4 separate regions of the Homo sapiens genome follow, and all the other regions are linked to region 3. The links are contacts of gene promoters, found by promoter capture Hi-C in blood cells and fetal thymus (Javierre and others, 2016). All regions are on one chromosome and are shown on one strand. The core of a region is centred on a gene start or on the middle of the fragment in contact, and the rest is flanking DNA. Distances in the headings are between cores, read along the strand shown.

Region 1 (3,531 bases), core at 767-3,266, 1.3 Mb before region 3:
GAGGCTGCAGAACACAAGTCTTGCACTACCTCTGCTCAACCTGGAACCCCAGCCCCCAAGACTCATTTGCCCCCACTGGTCCCACTCACCTACAATTCTCCTGGAGGCTTTCTTTGGGCCCCCAGCCCATAGAGCTCACTCTCCTCTCTGAAGTTCTGTAACTCTTGCTGCAAAGCCACTGGTCACTTACTCCCATTATACTGGGCCACTAGCCCATCTGGCACCTTTATGCATATTAGAAAAAGGTGTGCCTTTCTCTAGGCAAAGCAGCTTTGTGCCAAGGCCCAGAGTTTGTCAGAGCATGAGCTGGACTTTAGCCCCCACTTGCCCACTCAGCTGAGCTCCCTTATTTAGTACCCGTCCTGTACAAGTATTCACAGCAGCTCTGATTACCGGAGCCTGCCTTGTAGGCTGGATGGATGTGTGTGACCACCATCCAGCCCACTCTAATATGTATCCCAGGTGTAAATGCTCCAGGGAGTCTCCTCCCTGTCAGACAATATGCCCTGTGGTAAGGGACCATGTGTAATAACCCTGCTAAGTGTTTTCAGTGGCTACCTAGCACAGTTAGCCAAACACATCCTCACAATAGCTACAATTTATTGAATGCTTACTAATTCTTACAACACTACATGAGACAAATATTGTGATCATTGTTCAGATGAGAAAACTGAGGCTCAGACAGATTAATGTGCCCAAGACATCACAATTAGTAACTGCAAAGCTAAGTAAATTCACACTCAGGTGTGCCTAATCCAAAAACCTGTTTTTCCTATAATCTAGAGTCTAGACAATCTATAAATGTGTGGGATGAAAGAAAAGGAAGAATTATTCATGATGGTAGAGGGATTCAGAGAAGACTTGGGGGCCCAGAAAAAGAACTCGGGGAAACACTGGGGAGCCCAGGTGAGGGATGAGATGGGGATCTCACCGAAGAAGCAGTAGACGACTCCAAACAAACAGCACATGATGCAGACGAGGGCCGGCAGTGCCTGGTACCTGCGCTCCAGGGGCTGTTCACAAGGTGCACCCCAGAAGGCATCATCTGGCTCAGGGGGCAGCAGCTGGAACCGCAGTGTTGCCACAGTCCCCGGCATAGTGCTGGGAATAGAAGGGAGTCACCCTCCCAAGTTAACCTGACAGAGGGAAAGTTGGGGTCACGGAGGAGTCCTGGGTCCCCACCAGGATGGGGGTGGGAGAGGGATTGGGAGAACTCAGCAAGGACAGTGGACAAAGGAATAGTATCCACATTTGTGCAGCTCCGGAAGCATCTCTGGAGTGGGGAGCAAAGACAAAGGGAAACAAAAGTGCCTGGCTAGTGGAGGCTGGGATGAAGTTAAAAGAGGGACGGGAGTCGGGGGGATGAAGGGAGCGTGCTGCCAGTGAGAAGGAGGCAGCCAAGAGATTCATCTGTGGGCGGCTCAATATGGGATTGTCCAAGATTTACCTGGGCTGGAGGCGACCTGAGCTTCTGAGTGAAAGAGGCTGTGCAGAGGCCCGAGGGGCCGGGGTTGCGGGGCGCCAGAGGCTCCAACTGACTGGGGTCCAGGGAAAGTCCGTCGTGCGAGGAAGGGGGCTGCTGGGCCGGAGAGAATGGTGTCGGCGCGGTGGCGGCGCCGCTCCACGTCCAACACCGGCTGGCACTCCAGTCCCGCGGCGTCCGGGAACTCGGGCTGGGCCTGAGGAAGGGGAAGGCGCAGGAGCCGGGGCTCGGGCCGCCCCAGAACCGCGGCCCCATGCCCTGAGCCCGCCCGCGGCCTTTGGTGCTGATGGACAGCTCCGGCCTCTGCTCCTGACGTCACTCAGGGCGCACCATCCAGGCAGGGGCGGGCTGCTTCTGACGTCACATGGGACGCACCAACCACGCCGCGGGAGGCAGGGGACTCCGCCCCCGGCGTCTCCCTCTCCCGCACTGAGGAGGGGGCACTTCCGGGGGTCCTTCCCCTTTAACCTCCCCCTTCTCCTCCCTCTCCGGTAGCGAGAGCCCGAGACCCCACCCCGGGGGCGGGGCCCTTGCAGTGACACGTCGGACAGCTGCGGCCGCGGCTGAGGCTCCAGTGCCGAGCGCAAGAACCCTGCGCAGCCCAGAGCAGCTGCTGGAGGGGAATCGAGGCGCGGCTCCGGGGATTCGGCTCGGGCCGCTGGCTCTGCTCTGCGGGGAGGGAGCGGGCCCGCCCGCGGGGCCCGAGCCCTCCGGATCCGCCCCCTCCCCGGTCCCGCCCCCTCGGAGACTCCTCTGGCTGCTCTGGGGGTTCGCCGGGGCCGGGGACCCGCGGTCCGGGCGCCATGCGGGCATCGCTGCTGCTGTCGGTGCTGCGGCCCGCAGGGCCCGTGGCCGTGGGCATCTCCCTGGGCTTCACCCTGAGCCTGCTCAGCGTCACCTGGGTGGAGGAGCCGTGCGGCCCAGGCCCGCCCCAACCTGGAGACTCTGAGCTGCCGCCGCGCGGCAACACCAACGCGGCGCGCCGGCCCAACTCGGTGCAGCCCGGAGCGGAGCGCGAGAAGCCCGGGGCCGGCGAAGGCGCCGGGGAGAATTGGGAGCCGCGCGTCTTGCCCTACCACCCTGCACAGCCCGGCCAGGCCGCCAAAAAGGCCGTCAGGTAGTGATCGGCTGCGCCCGCTCTACCCCCTGGGCAGCGGCCGGGAAGCGCGCGGGGAGGTCGCCCGGGCCCGGGTCAGGCTCCGGAAGGAAGGGGCTGGCGAGCCAGGAAGTCTTTGGGCCCCGATAACTTCCGATGGCCCTGCCTTCCCGAGAGCCGTGGGGCCAGTCCGAGACTTTCTCTGGGCCCTATCCCGGCCTGGGCTGAACTTACTGGACTGTGTCCTAAACCGGCTCGACCCGATGGCGCCCCAGAGATCCTACTAGCTCCCTGGCTGGGCTGCTGGTGTTAGAGAAATGACTTATATATAGGGTGAGTGTATAGAGACAGGGGAAGAGAAAGGAGAGAACTAGGATTTACCTGGATCTCTTGTTCCTGAGTGGGTTACAAGGGCCACCTCAGGGTGAGATGGGGGAGGGAGGAATGTACCTATCTCATTAATGTCTCTGCTGATGAGTTGAAATAACTTCTAAGTAACATTGGGTTCAAATGCTGGTTCTGCAATTTACCTTCTGCCTTACCAAAAGGTAAGTTCCTAGAGCCCCTGAGTGCAGTTTGCCCCTCCCCGCAAAAACACTCAGTACACCCCTATGCCAAACGTTCCTTTATGTCATTTATGTGAGGCATTTGTGGCATAATGGCATATTTATATAGAAATGAGTAGATACATGGTGTGTCCAGCGTTTGGCTGGGTGCTTTAAACAGATATAATCAGTCCCATTTTACAGATGGCTCAGGTTAAATAACATGCTCAAGGACATAACTACTAAGTAGCGAACCCCGGAGTCAGACCCACAATATCTCTCTCCTATCTGGGTGGGTATTGCCATCTCCCAAATGCAAAGCACTACCTGTTTAAGACCATTTCGTTTAAATCCTCATGACCCCTGGGAGAGAGGGTTTATTTTTAACCTATTCATAGGTGAGAGAA
Region 2 (3,997 bases), core at 398-2,897, 1.8 Mb after region 3:
ATGATCACACCATTTCACTCCAACCTGGACAACAGAGTGAGATCCTTTCTCAAAACAAAAACAAAAAAAGAAAGAAAAAAGAAACTCATCTCAGGGAAGTTAAGAAACTTGCTCAATGTCACACAGCAATTAGAACTCAAATCTGGTCTGTCTGATCCCAAAGTTAGTTCTCCTAATTGCTAGCTTGTACTACGCCAAATCATAATATTTAGTGCACTGAAAAAGCACATCAGAAAACATAGTTGAATTAAAATCAGGTCCCTGGCACTCAGTCTGGGCCAGGATCTGTAACTACCTTGTGGTTTGACTTTAGGTAAGCCACAGTCCCCACATGGAGAACCACCTCCCCACCTCCCAGCAGCCACCATCTTTATTTACAAGGAGCTGGACCAGGTGGTCTTCAAGGTCCTGTCCAGTTCTTCCCTCCTATGATTCCAGGAAGAGCTTCCAGACTTTGAGTGCCACTGGGGCAGTGACCCACCATGTGCTTTATGTCAGCACATCTTGCACAATTTTGTGGAATAAAGGTAGTTGTCTCTTTATCCTCCCCAATCTGTTATTCCAGCTCTGGCTGTGTAAATTCAAGGAGGAGAAAAAGCAAAAAGTAGTGGATAGTGGGAATAGTCAAATTGATTTTTGCATACATTTTTTGCATTTTCTAATTATCTTTTATAATGAGCATGTGTTTCTTTTATAATCTAAAAAAACTACCATTAAAAAAAAAACCCCAAACATCTCCAGTAACGACGAGTATACCTACTGCCCCAGATCTCAGGGTTTGTTTTTATTTGTTTTGTTTTGTTTTGAGACAGGGTCTTGCTCTGTTCCCCAGGCTGGTGTGCAGTGGTGTGATCACAGCTCACTATAGCCTTGACCTCCCCAGGCTCAAGCAGTCCTTTCACCACAGTCTCCTGAGTAGTGCCCAAATAATTTTTTTATTTTTGTAGAGACAGTCTTGCCATGTTGCCCAGGCTGGTCTGGAACTCCTGGGTTCAAGCAATCCTCCAGCCTCAGTCTTCCAGAGTGCTGGCATTTCAGGCATGAGCCACCATGCCCAGACCCCAGATCTTGGTTTATAATATCATTCTTTAATAAAAGGAACCAGGGCCCCTTAGAGAAGTGACTCATTCTAGGACTGCAGCAGGAAATATACAAGGCGAGCCTGCAGTATCTTGTGCCAGAAAGTAAGGAAATGTTCAGAAAACCCTACACTGATGGGGATATGTCAGAGAGACACAGGAGTCAACTGAAAGAACTCCGAATGGCCAAAGCTAGAAAATTTTGAGCAATAAATAAGGTAGTATTGATTTAACCCAAGTGTAAAATAAATATCCATGGGTCCATGTGGATATAAATAAATGATAGACTAAATAAATGAAAGACAAGAGGCAACTCTCTTTTGCAGAAGAATTTATTTTTTCTTTTTTTGAGACCGAGTCTTGCTCTGTCGCCCAGGCTGGAGTGCAGTGGTATGATCTGGGCGCACTGCAACCTCTGCCTCCTGGGTTCAAGCAAGTCTCCTGCCTCAGCCTGCTGAGCAGCTGGGACTACAGGCATGCACCACCACACCCAGCTAATTTTTGTATTTTTAGTAGAGACGGGGCTTCACCATAACGGCCAGGCTGGTCTTGAACTCCTGACCTCGTGATCCACCCTCCTCGACCTCCCAAAGTGCTGGGATTACAGGTGTGAGCCACTGCACCCGGCCAAGAAGAATTTCAAATAATTTATGTGGATATTCTGCTCTCAAGGAGGGTGAGCATAACTCCCCACTCCCTAAGTGTGGGCTGCACAGAATGACTTCCTTCCAAAGAGCACAGTATAGAAAGGGGAAAAAAGAGTAACTTTATAGCCAACACGACCTCAGCCAAGGTGATGAAGGTCAACATCAACAGTGATAATCTTGTTACTATGTCCCCTTGATGTGGAATGAAAATGGCACTTTGCCTCTGTGATCTTTCTCCCAAAACCCATAACCTCAGTCTAATCATGAGAACAATAGACAAATTCCAAAAGAGGGACATCCTTCAATATACCTGACCAGGGCTCCTTAAAACTGTCAAACCAGGAAAGCCTGAGTAACTGTCACAGCCAAGAGGAGCGTAAGGTGACATGATGACTAAATGTAACATGAAATCTTAGAACAAAAAAAAGACAATACGTTAAAAACTAGGAAGATCCGAATAAACTACAGACTTTAGGTCATAATAATGTATTAATCTTGCTTTATGAATTGTAACCAATTTACCATACTAATGTTAAGATGTTGCCGGGCGCGGTGGGTCACGCCTGTAATCCCAGCACTTTGAGAAGCTGAGGCAGGCAGATCTCGAGGTCAGGAGATTGAGACCATCCTGGCTAACACAGTGAAACCCTATCTCTACTAAAAATACAAAAAATTAGCCAGGCATGGTGGCACATGCCTATAATCCCAGCTACTCGGGAGGCTGAGGCAGGAGAATTGCTTGAACCTGGGAGGTGGAGGTGGAGTGAGTTGAGATCGTGCCACTGCACTCCAGCCTGGGCGACAGAGCAAGACTTCATCTCAAAAAAAAAAAAAAAAAAAAAAAAGTTAACAATAGAGAAAATTGGGTAAGGGTATACAAAAATACTCTCTCCTCAATTTTTTTATATAACTATAAAACTGTTCTACAAAATAAAGTCTATTTTAAAACAACCACCACCACCACCCAAGGAGGTCACCACAAGTCAATTCCATGAGGACAGGGCTTGTGTTGTTCACCTCTGCATCCCAGGACCTATACAAGAGCCTGACGTGTCAGCAGTAATGTCTGTTGAATGGGGGATTGTTACCTTGCATGGTATAATGGTGATGGGTATATGAAGCGTTTCATGTGTTTGGGTTTCTCTGCTTTGTAAAGTCAGTCCAGTTATGTCAGAACTGAAAAAGGCTTTAGAGATAATGTAGCCCAAACTGGAAACTGAGGCCCGGGGGGTCAAATGACTTGCCCAAGGTCACATAGCCATTAAGTGACACATAAACGTGTGTTCGCTCCACTGTATCACATGATTCAAGTCTCTAAGTCTCTTTCCGCAGCTGCAAAATGAGTATACTGTACAATAAAGGGTCTCAGGAAGATAAAATAACTTCCATGAAGTGTCTAGTGAACATTTTAAAATAGTGGCCAGTATGTTTGTTGAGATGCTGCTGCTGCTGCTGCTGCTACCTGATTTCAACATCTCTTTCTGCCTTTTCAATCCTCTCTCCTCTTCTGCCATACTCAAGGAAGTACAGAAGATCTGCCTTCTTCTTTCCCTTAAAAATATGCCCATCTCTTTTCTCCTTAATTTCTTTAGCTTGGACACAATGAAACCACTACAGTCATGGTAACTGATGCCGCTTGAGGCCCACAAAGGGAGTGAGATGTGCCCAAGATGTTTCTCTTCCACCACAGGCCTCATGCACCCTCTGCCCCCATAGGTTAGGGTGGAAGATGGCAAGGGGCCAAGGGAACAAGTCCCTCTTCCCTCAGAAGGGAAATGCACTGCATTTCAGGGATGTTATCTGGAAAGCTCTCCACCCAAGCAATGCCTGCCTCCAGAAAACTATAAATTAAAACAAAAATATATCCATGTTGATACAAACAAAGGAGACTAGTGGAAGGAGTCTTAAACAAATGCTCACCATGATCCTCCCTTTTCAGACTGTGCCTCTTGGCCACACAGGATGGTGCTCAATTGAGCTGGGGAGTGGGTGAGTCAGCTTCATGCTGGGGCAGTCCAGGCAGAGCTGAGGTGAGCCATCCTGGGCTGGCACTAGAGCCTAATTCAGATCATCATTTAGCAAATGTGCTGCCTCCCCCACGCCCTCCGCTGCAGAGCCTCCTACGTCTCTGGCCTTCAGGGGGGTCTGAGAGAGAGAGCAAGAGAAGAGGGAATGCATGAGTAGGAATGCAGTAAGCGGCTGAAAATGAGACACTCCATAATAGGAGGAAATTGTTCATGTTCAGAGCAATTTTGTCAAAACTGAACAATT
Region 3 (3,657 bases), core at 1,125-3,624:
TGGGGGGAGTCATTCTAGCTTCATCAGTTGCATGAATGCTGCAATACCTCTTATAGTCTATTCATCCTCTGTGCTGGCTGCTGGAGGGACCCACACAAATCAGATCCTGTCACTTCCCTGCTTAAAACCCCGTAACTCCATCACTTCCTGGCCAAGTCCAAACATGGCACAAAAGGCCCAGTGTGGCTGGGTCTCTGCCTGCCTCTTTCCTCCTCCCGCCTAGAGCCTGATCCTCAGCACGAGCCCTGCATTCCTGCAACAGCACCTGTGCAGGATTTTCCAGGCAGCCCTGACGCTTTCCCTCTCTGAGACTTGGCCAAGGTACCCTCCCAGTTTTCCCCTCTTAAGCTAAGTAACCACTGCTTGGGAGGCACTTTGGTATGGGGGAAAGAGCATGGAGTCACAGACTAGGTGAGAATCCTAGCTCAGTCTCAGTTCCTTCCTCTGTGAAATGGGGATGTAATACTTATCTCAAACACTAAAACATTACATGGCAAAGTACTGGCACACCTCACATGCAGAAAAAAATGTTGATTTCTTCCTCCTTTCTCTTTAATATTGGTCAATAATATGTATTAAGGTCAGAGTCAGAGCCCAATCACAATGTTCATAACGCCTTCTGAGTACTACTATACAACTAGTACAAGCTCACATGATCTCAACGAACTACTTACTTAAACTTGGGTCTCACTCCAAGCTCCCAAAAGGGAGGATGAGGCCAGGGACCCAAGTCTGAATCAGATCAACTCAGCTTACTCCACAGTAAACCCACTGTCTTCTCAATTCCACATACTTTCCCACCTCCACTGCCCCACCCCTCTGAGATTCCAATCGAACCCAACAATTCTGTTCCCACAACTTTGGATTCAGCTCGCCACCTGAAACTTGGAGAAGTTTCTAAGTCCTGCCCTCCCCTACAAGCCACGCCCCGTTGGTGGGCAAAGGGGTGGTTAAAACTCACCAGGCCAGTCCCACAGCTTTCATGGGGTTCTTGCCCCTCTTTCTGGGAATGTATTCCAGCTCCGGGGATAGGGGTTCAGGTTCCTCCTTGCCCTCTGGGGAGCTGTGGCTTTGCAGGGCCCGGGTCCTGTTATGAGAAGCCTTGTTAGCTGTGGCTCCTGCGAGAATCCCTGTGGATGGAGGTAAGGAAGGTCAGTAAGAAGAGATGAGAAGAAAGCAAGCGGGGAGGTGGGGGGCAGTAAGGGCTTGGGAGGAGCGGCTGAGATCTGGGGAAGGGGAGTGACTGCAGTCTGAAGTAAGAAGTGCCAAGGAGAATCCAAAGGGAAATGGGAAAATCGCCACCGAGGTGGCACCTTTGGAAGCCACTTCCACGTCACTGCGGGCTCATCACCCTGGTGCCAGGACGAAAAGCTTCGCTGTTCTTCCTCAGACGACAGCATGGGAAGGACTGCAGTGGGACTCACATAAGACGTATGAAGGAAATCCGGGAAAAGGTTTTGAAACTGCAAATGTTAGCACTGGAAGGGACCTTAAAGATAGTCTACTCCATCCCTTGCACTGTACGGAAGAGGAAACTGAAGCCCTGAGAGAAAAACTGCTTTGCCCAAGGTCAAACTGCTAATTATCCGGGGCTGGAACTCAAACCTCCAGAAGCCCGGGGCTCTTTCCTCTGCACTGCGGTGAGTGTGAAACACCTGGAGCGCGGGAGTCCAACAGGCTTCCTAGGAGCTCCCTCTTGCAGCAAGACCCCGGAGGTGTCGAGCAACCCGAAGGCGGGGGGATGCACTGGGTGACCTCTAAAGAGCATCTCTGCACCCCCAGACTCTAAGATCTTGCAGAAAAGTGTGGGGAGGAACCAAGAGCCCTGACCTCCTGCTATCGTCGGGCTGGACGTGAAAGAAAAGGGATCTTCTGCAGTCCTGCCCTCCCCGGGGTCCCTCTCCTTACCCCGGAGGACGCGGGCATTTCTCGCCCCCCGGCCCTTCAGCGCCGTAGCAGCTACCACCGCCGCCATGTTCAGATCCCACCCCCGCTTCACCGCGCTCCCCGCCGGGAATTGTAGTTTGCGTAAGGGGCCTCCCCCGCTCCTTCCGTCCTGCCTACAGACCAGAAACTACATCTCCCAGAAGCCCGCAGAGCGGACCCAGGAGAACTACTCTTCCCAGGAGACCCCGGAGGCGCGCGCGCTCGCTTGTTTCCCTCCAGTTGGGGGCGGAGTCAGGTGGGGCGGAGTTTGGGTTCTCTCCGCCACGCCCCGGCCCCATCTTCCAATGCCGCTCTGTGATTGGTGAGGCGGCCAGCCAACCTTCGTAGCTATTGGCCGAACGGCCGTCGCTCTTCCTGCTGGGGAGTCGCCTACGCCTACTTCCTGCCGGGAGGAGGGGCTCGAGTTCCGCGTCGTCGCGCAGAGCTGACTCTGGGAGGCGTTTGGGCCCAGAGAAGTGGATCCGCCGCTTGCGCCGCATGGAGTCCGAATCGGAAAGCGGGGCTGCTGCTGACACCCCCCCACTGGAGACCCTAAGCTTCCATGGTGATGAAGAGATTATCGAGGTGGTAGAACTTGATCCCGGTCCGCCGGACCCAGGTGAGAACTGCCGCTCCTCAGGCCATGGGACAGGAGACGCTCACCCCTGGCCTCTGACTCCTGCTTTTCCCCGCTCCCCTCCACACCCGACTGGTCATTCCTACCGATATCCCTCTTCCCCTCCTCCCCCACTCCCACCCTCACACTTAGTTCTCAGGCCTGGCTGGGGTGGGGGTTCCCTGACGCCTCCTCTGGCCCTTCCCCTCACACACCCCCTTCCCATCATCCCCTTGGCCCTCCCTTACCGCACGGTCTCTGGCCAGCCGTGGCCTCCCGTCCTGTGTCCCGCGCGCCCCCGCGGACCCCGGTGTGTCTGACTCCACCTTCCCTTCTCGCCACATGACCCGCCCCAGCCTCAGGCCTCCTCATGCTTCTCTCCGTACCTCTTACCGCCTCCCGAGCCCCATCTTCTAACCCTCTCCCCAAAGCAGATGACCTGGCCCAGGAGATGGAAGATGTGGACTTTGAGGAAGAAGAGGAGGAAGAGGGCAACGAAGAGGGCTGGGTTCTAGAACCCCAGGAAGGGGTGGTCGGCAGCATGGAGGGCCCCGACGATAGCGAGGTCACCTTTGCATTGCACTCAGGTAGGTCTTTGAGGCGATCCACCTCAAATCAGTTTAGGTGGGCGTGTAAGCATTAAACATCAGCCATGGACAGAACGTTATGGGGGACACAGAGATGGGCAAGATGCTGGCCTTGCGCTGGAGGAGCCCACAGGTGGGAAAGTGTGGCAGAATGGATGATTGCTTGGCTTCTGGCATCAGTCGAGACACCCTCTACTTTGCCAGTTAACCTTGATTAACCTCTTAGTTTTCTTTTAAAAAGTTATCTTTGGCCGGGCGTGGTGGCTCACTCCTGAAATCCCAGCACTTTAGGAGGCTGAGGCAGGTGGATCACTTGAGGTCAGGAGTTCGAGACCAGCCTGGCCAACATGGCAAAACCCAGTCTCTACTAAAAATACAAAAATTTGGCTGGGCATGGTGGCTCACGCCTGTAATCCCAGCACTTTAGGAGGCCCAGGCAGGCGGATCACAAGGTCGGGAGTTCCAGACCAGCCTGGCCAATATGGTGAAACCCCGTCTCTACTAAAAATACAAAAATTAGCTGGGCGT
Region 4 (3,986 bases), core at 249-2,748, 1.9 Mb after region 3:
GATCACCAGCAATGAGAATACCAGGTGTCAAAATCTGCAATCTTTATCCAGAGCCTTGGGTCTCCCCGTTCCAACACCAAATAAATCGATTAAAAAATGAGCCCTCACTAGACGGAGCTAGCAGCAGCAGCGTTATGGGTTGAATTGTGTCCCTCCAAAATTCATGTTAAACACACAGCCCAGGACCTCAGAATGTGATTGTATATGGAGATAGGGCCTTTAAAGAGGTTAATAAGTTAAATGAGGTCACCAAGGTGGGCGATAATCCAATGACTGGTGTTCTTCTAAGAAAAGGGAGAGACCCTAGGGATTTGCACACACAAAGGAAAATCCAAACAAGGACACAGAGAGAAGACAGCCACCTGCAGGGCATGGAGAGAGGCCTCTGAAGAAACCAACCCTACCAATCTCAGGCTTCCAGCCTCCAGGACTGTAAAAAATAAATTTGTATTGTTTAAGCCACCCAGTCAGTGGTACTTTGTCACGGCAGCCCTCGCAAACTAACAACACTAGCAGCTACCAAAGAAAGATATCGCCTAATGTACACATTTCAAGAATTGGAGGCCAAGGAGAAAACCAGGAAATTCTGCAGGGAGCTGTCCCATCACTGGCCCAAACCACCTTTCCCAGAAACTGTACTGGTGCCTCCAGATAATCCTACCTCATACCCCAAATCTGCAAAGTGACCTAAGCATACATCCTTATCTTTTCCTTTCTTAAGCTAGGGGGAGGAAGAGACGGTGTAGAAATGGCAGCTGGGGGAGAAGAGTAAAATAAATGGAAGATGAAAACACACAGGGCTGACGCTTTGACACAGGTGTGCAAGCTCCATGTACCAGGATCAAGTGACAAAAACTTTAGTGTATGACAGTTTTCTCAGAAGACAGAGGGACGTAACCAGGTGCTGACTATGACCAGACACTGCATTAGCTGGAACTTGCCTGGCCAATGCCCCCTCCTTGCATTTTTGAGTAGTTAGCTGCACAGAGAGTACTCTGAGGATCTGTGCTGTTTGCTGAACTGTTACCTTCCTGGGAGCAGGGGCTGGCAGGCTGCCTGAGCTGCCTGTCACTGCTGGGGCCAGCATAGTCTGGTGGGAACGTGTAGTCTGAAGTCAGACTGTCAGGGTTTGAATCCCAGTTGTACAACTTATTGGCTATGTGACCCTGTGTTACTGACTCATCGTCCCTGGGCCTCAGTTTCCCCATCTGTAAAAAAGTCATTATAAGGAATAAAAGTTAGCATAAGGGGCTTAGAATAGCCTAATGCAAAGCAAGCATCATTTAATGCTAGCTTTTGTTAATACTACTAACGGCCTTCACCCACAGAGCTGCCTCATTAGGCTAGACAGAGTGGGAAGGAGTGTTGGGGGGGGTGCCCTGAAAGCTTTCACCACCTGTAAAGCCATGCACTCCATAAGCTGGACTACATGTGATACTCTAAAGATTTTCAGCACCAGTGCCACCCTCCATGAGACAACCATGTGTCTACTTACTCAGGGCACTATAGTCATTCATGCTGAAGTTCCACGTCTTGGTGTCAGGATCTGAAACAAAACAGAGGACTGATGACTGTTGACAATTTGTACTTAGGCACTCAACACAAGCTTGTCTTCTAAATGAATGAATGAAGGACGCCAAGTTCAAAACAGCTGACCAGCAAGCCCCCACTGATCTATAAAAATCTCTGTAGAGGACAAATAGTAAATATAGATAATTCTTTTATTCCATGTAGTGGAATCCAACTCAGGCCCTGGGAAGTTATGAACTTCACCTAAGAGGACTGAGGGCAGAGTTAGGACTAGAATCCAAGTTCTCCAGGTCGTAGTGTGGTCAGGCAAAGCAGTATGAGGAGTAATGGCTCTGGCCTGTAATTGAGCTAGTCACATCCTGACGCTGCCTTTCCAGACCAATGAAACTGGGCCTGTCACTTAATCTTGCTGGGCCAGTTCCATCACCTTAAAAACTAAAATAACATCTACTTATTTCAAAAAAACTGCTGTTCAGCTTAAGTGCTACAATGCATATAAAGCACCTGGCAGAGGAAGCGTCTTCTCAGTAACATTCAACTGTTCTCCAGATGGCCACGTGACAACCATCAAGTTTGGCAGCTGTTTAAGGGAATGACTATTATGAAGGGAAACAAGCTAAAATTGAAAAATTTTTAACAACTGGATGGACAGCATGTGCCAATGCACTCTCTTAATATTTATGAGAAACTGTTAGATTAAAAGAGACTCCAAAAATAAGAAAAAAAAAAAAAAACAGCTGAAAAATGAAGACATTACCATAATTCTTGCTGGGCAGGGTCTTAAACACTGCAATGAGTTCCGCATTGTACCCAATCAACACCTGGAAACGATCGCCGTTCCTTACGCACTTTCCCTTCTGAGAGTTCACTCCTTTTTGGACTGAGGACCCTGACTTCTGCTGGAGTCTTCCTTCTGTCCTGGGCGTTACACTCTCTGAGCTAGAATGGATGTAAGAAATGTTCTGCCCCGAAGGGGAGGCTTTTGCTGTCTTGGCCTCTAACTTAGCATCCCTGGGAGGCTGTCCAGAGGAATGAGCTGGTGTCTCTTGGGAACTCTTTGGTTTGGCCAGAGGCTTATGAGTTGGGTTAGCAAAGGGTGTGAACCTGATCTCAGGTGAAGCCTGAGCATGACCTTGACCTAACTCATAACTCAAGAGCTGTTGTTTAGGGACCTCTGGAGGACTTTGTGCCAAGGGAGGAGAGATTCCAGTGAGAGCCATTTGACTACGTGGACTGTGGCCTGGGCAGGCTGTGGGCATTTCTTCTGGCTTTTTCCATATTCCCTTTGCCTGAAAACTGTGGGAATCATGAGGTCTTTGGTCAGCATTAGATGAGCTACTGAGATTCTGTTGCTTGAAAATGACACCATGGCTCACTGGCTTACAAGACTCCCTTGGGAAATTTTGGGATGGGCCTTGCTTGGCCTGGAATGGGTTGCCAGCAATGGAGGTGCCCGAGCTAGTCCTCTGATGCTGTTCTGCCAATAACTTCTCAGCTCTGCGGGCCAGAGCCTTTTGTCGATTCTCTTCAATCTTTTTCCTCTGCTCCTCTGTAAGAGGCAAGGACATTTTCACAGAGAAATGCTTATGCAGGAATGTCAACCTTTAATTGGAAAGTTGGCAAAAGCTGTGGAAGAAAGTAAGAAGAATGAAATGAACATTACATGTATTAATTGTCATACTCCAACCATGATTTTAACAAGCTTTTGTCCCAGAAAATGCATAATGAGCACAACTAAAGGATGTATTAAAGTTTCTTTTATAATTGCACACACACTGAAATAGTAGGCAGCATATGCTGAAATAAAGACCCTGATCAAAAAGCAAAAAGCAGGTCGGGTGTAATCCCAGCACTTTGGGAAGCTGAGGCAGGTGGATCACTTGAGGTCAGGAGTTTGAGACCAGCCTGGCCAACATGGTGAAACCCCATCTCTACTAAAAATACAAAATTAGCCAGGCGTGGTGGTGCACGCCTGTAATCCCAGCTACTTGGGAGGCTGAGGCAGGAGAATTGCTTGAACCTGGGAGGCAGAGGTTGCAGTAAGCCAAGATCGTGCCACCGCACTCCAGCCTGGGCAACAAGAACAAAACTCTCAAAGAAAAAAAAAAAAGCAAAAAGCAAATCCAAAGCTAAAAAGGCATTTCAGAGGCAATATTTCTCTCCTTCTCACATGGTAACTCACATGGTAACTCAATGGTTCGAAGCACTGCCAAAATGGTGAGTAACTCTTCTGATAACTCACATGGCCCAGCCAAGGTGAGTTATCAGAACCTAAGAAAGTTATGCATTGCAACGTAAATCCATCAGATAATGAGAAAGGTGACATTTTTAACCAGAAAGCATAATAGATTAGACTGAAATAGACCAACCAACCACATACCATGGCGTGACACTTGCTAACATAGTCTTTTTCCAACCTAGAAGAAGGAAAAAAGCATTAGCCTCCCATAGCCTGC

What was found. The method cuts DNA at HindIII sites, captures the fragments that hold promoters and counts their contacts. A CHiCAGO score of 5 or more calls a contact.
Region 1: the fragment with the promoter of CHPF here is called in contact with the fragment with the promoter of AAMP in region 3 in 2 of 17 cell types (naive CD8 T cells and naive CD4 T cells); the score reaches 6.4 in naive CD8 T cells.
Region 2: a contact is called between a fragment that was not itself captured here and the fragment with the promoter of AAMP in region 3, in 2 of 17 cell types (fetal thymus and total B cells). The highest score is 7.7, in fetal thymus.
Region 4: a fragment that was not itself captured here is called in contact with the fragment with the promoter of AAMP in region 3 in 2 of 17 cell types (fetal thymus and non-activated CD4 T cells); the score reaches 8.8 in fetal thymus.

The regions. Positions count from the first base shown.
Region 1 is chr2:219,542,294-219,545,824 of GRCh38, reverse strand. It overlaps CHPF (chondroitin polymerizing factor), which reads left to right and starts at 2,016. Exons shown (of 4, transcript NM_024536.6): 1 at 2,016-2,600. The coding sequence starts at 2,287. TMEM198 (transmembrane protein 198) reads right to left here and starts at 1,797. Exons shown (of 5, transcript NM_001005209.3): 1 at 1,448-1,797; 2 at 932-1,136. The coding sequence starts at 1,097. RefSeq lists silencers at 1,595-1,734, 1,775-2,484, 2,495-2,584. The HindIII fragment of the contact is 11,388 bases long and covers 1-3,531 here.
Region 2 is chr2:216,492,949-216,496,945 of GRCh38, reverse strand. All of the region lies in intron 1 of RPL37A-DT (RPL37A divergent transcript), which reads left to right. Among named protein-coding and RNA genes, the nearest start is that of RPL37A-DT, 3.8 kb to the left of the region's middle. RefSeq lists a silencer at 788-857. The HindIII fragment of the contact is 4,737 bases long and covers 1-3,997 here.
Region 3 is chr2:218,268,854-218,272,510 of GRCh38, reverse strand. AAMP (angio associated migratory cell protein) reads left to right here and starts at 2,374. Exons shown (of 11, transcript NM_001087.5): 1 at 2,374-2,545; 2 at 2,977-3,129. The coding sequence starts at 2,425. It overlaps PNKD (PNKD metallo-beta-lactamase domain containing), which reads right to left and starts at 1,992. Exons shown (of 10, transcript NM_015488.5): 1 at 1,909-1,992; 2 at 962-1,130. The coding sequence starts at 1,975. RefSeq lists enhancers at 1,698-1,747, 1,778-2,157, 2,308-2,627, 3,196-3,657. The HindIII fragment of the contact is 1,112 bases long and covers 1,374-2,485 here.
Region 4 is chr2:216,413,817-216,417,802 of GRCh38, reverse strand. SMARCAL1 (SNF2 related chromatin remodeling annealing helicase 1) reads right to left here. Exons shown (of 18, transcript NM_014140.4): 2 at 3,911-3,947; 3 at 2,288-3,156; 4 at 1,496-1,546. The coding sequence starts at 3,098. Among named protein-coding and RNA genes, the nearest start is that of SMARCAL1-AS1, 3.3 kb to the right of the region's middle. RefSeq lists an enhancer at 1-49. The HindIII fragment of the contact is 220 bases long and covers 1,389-1,608 here.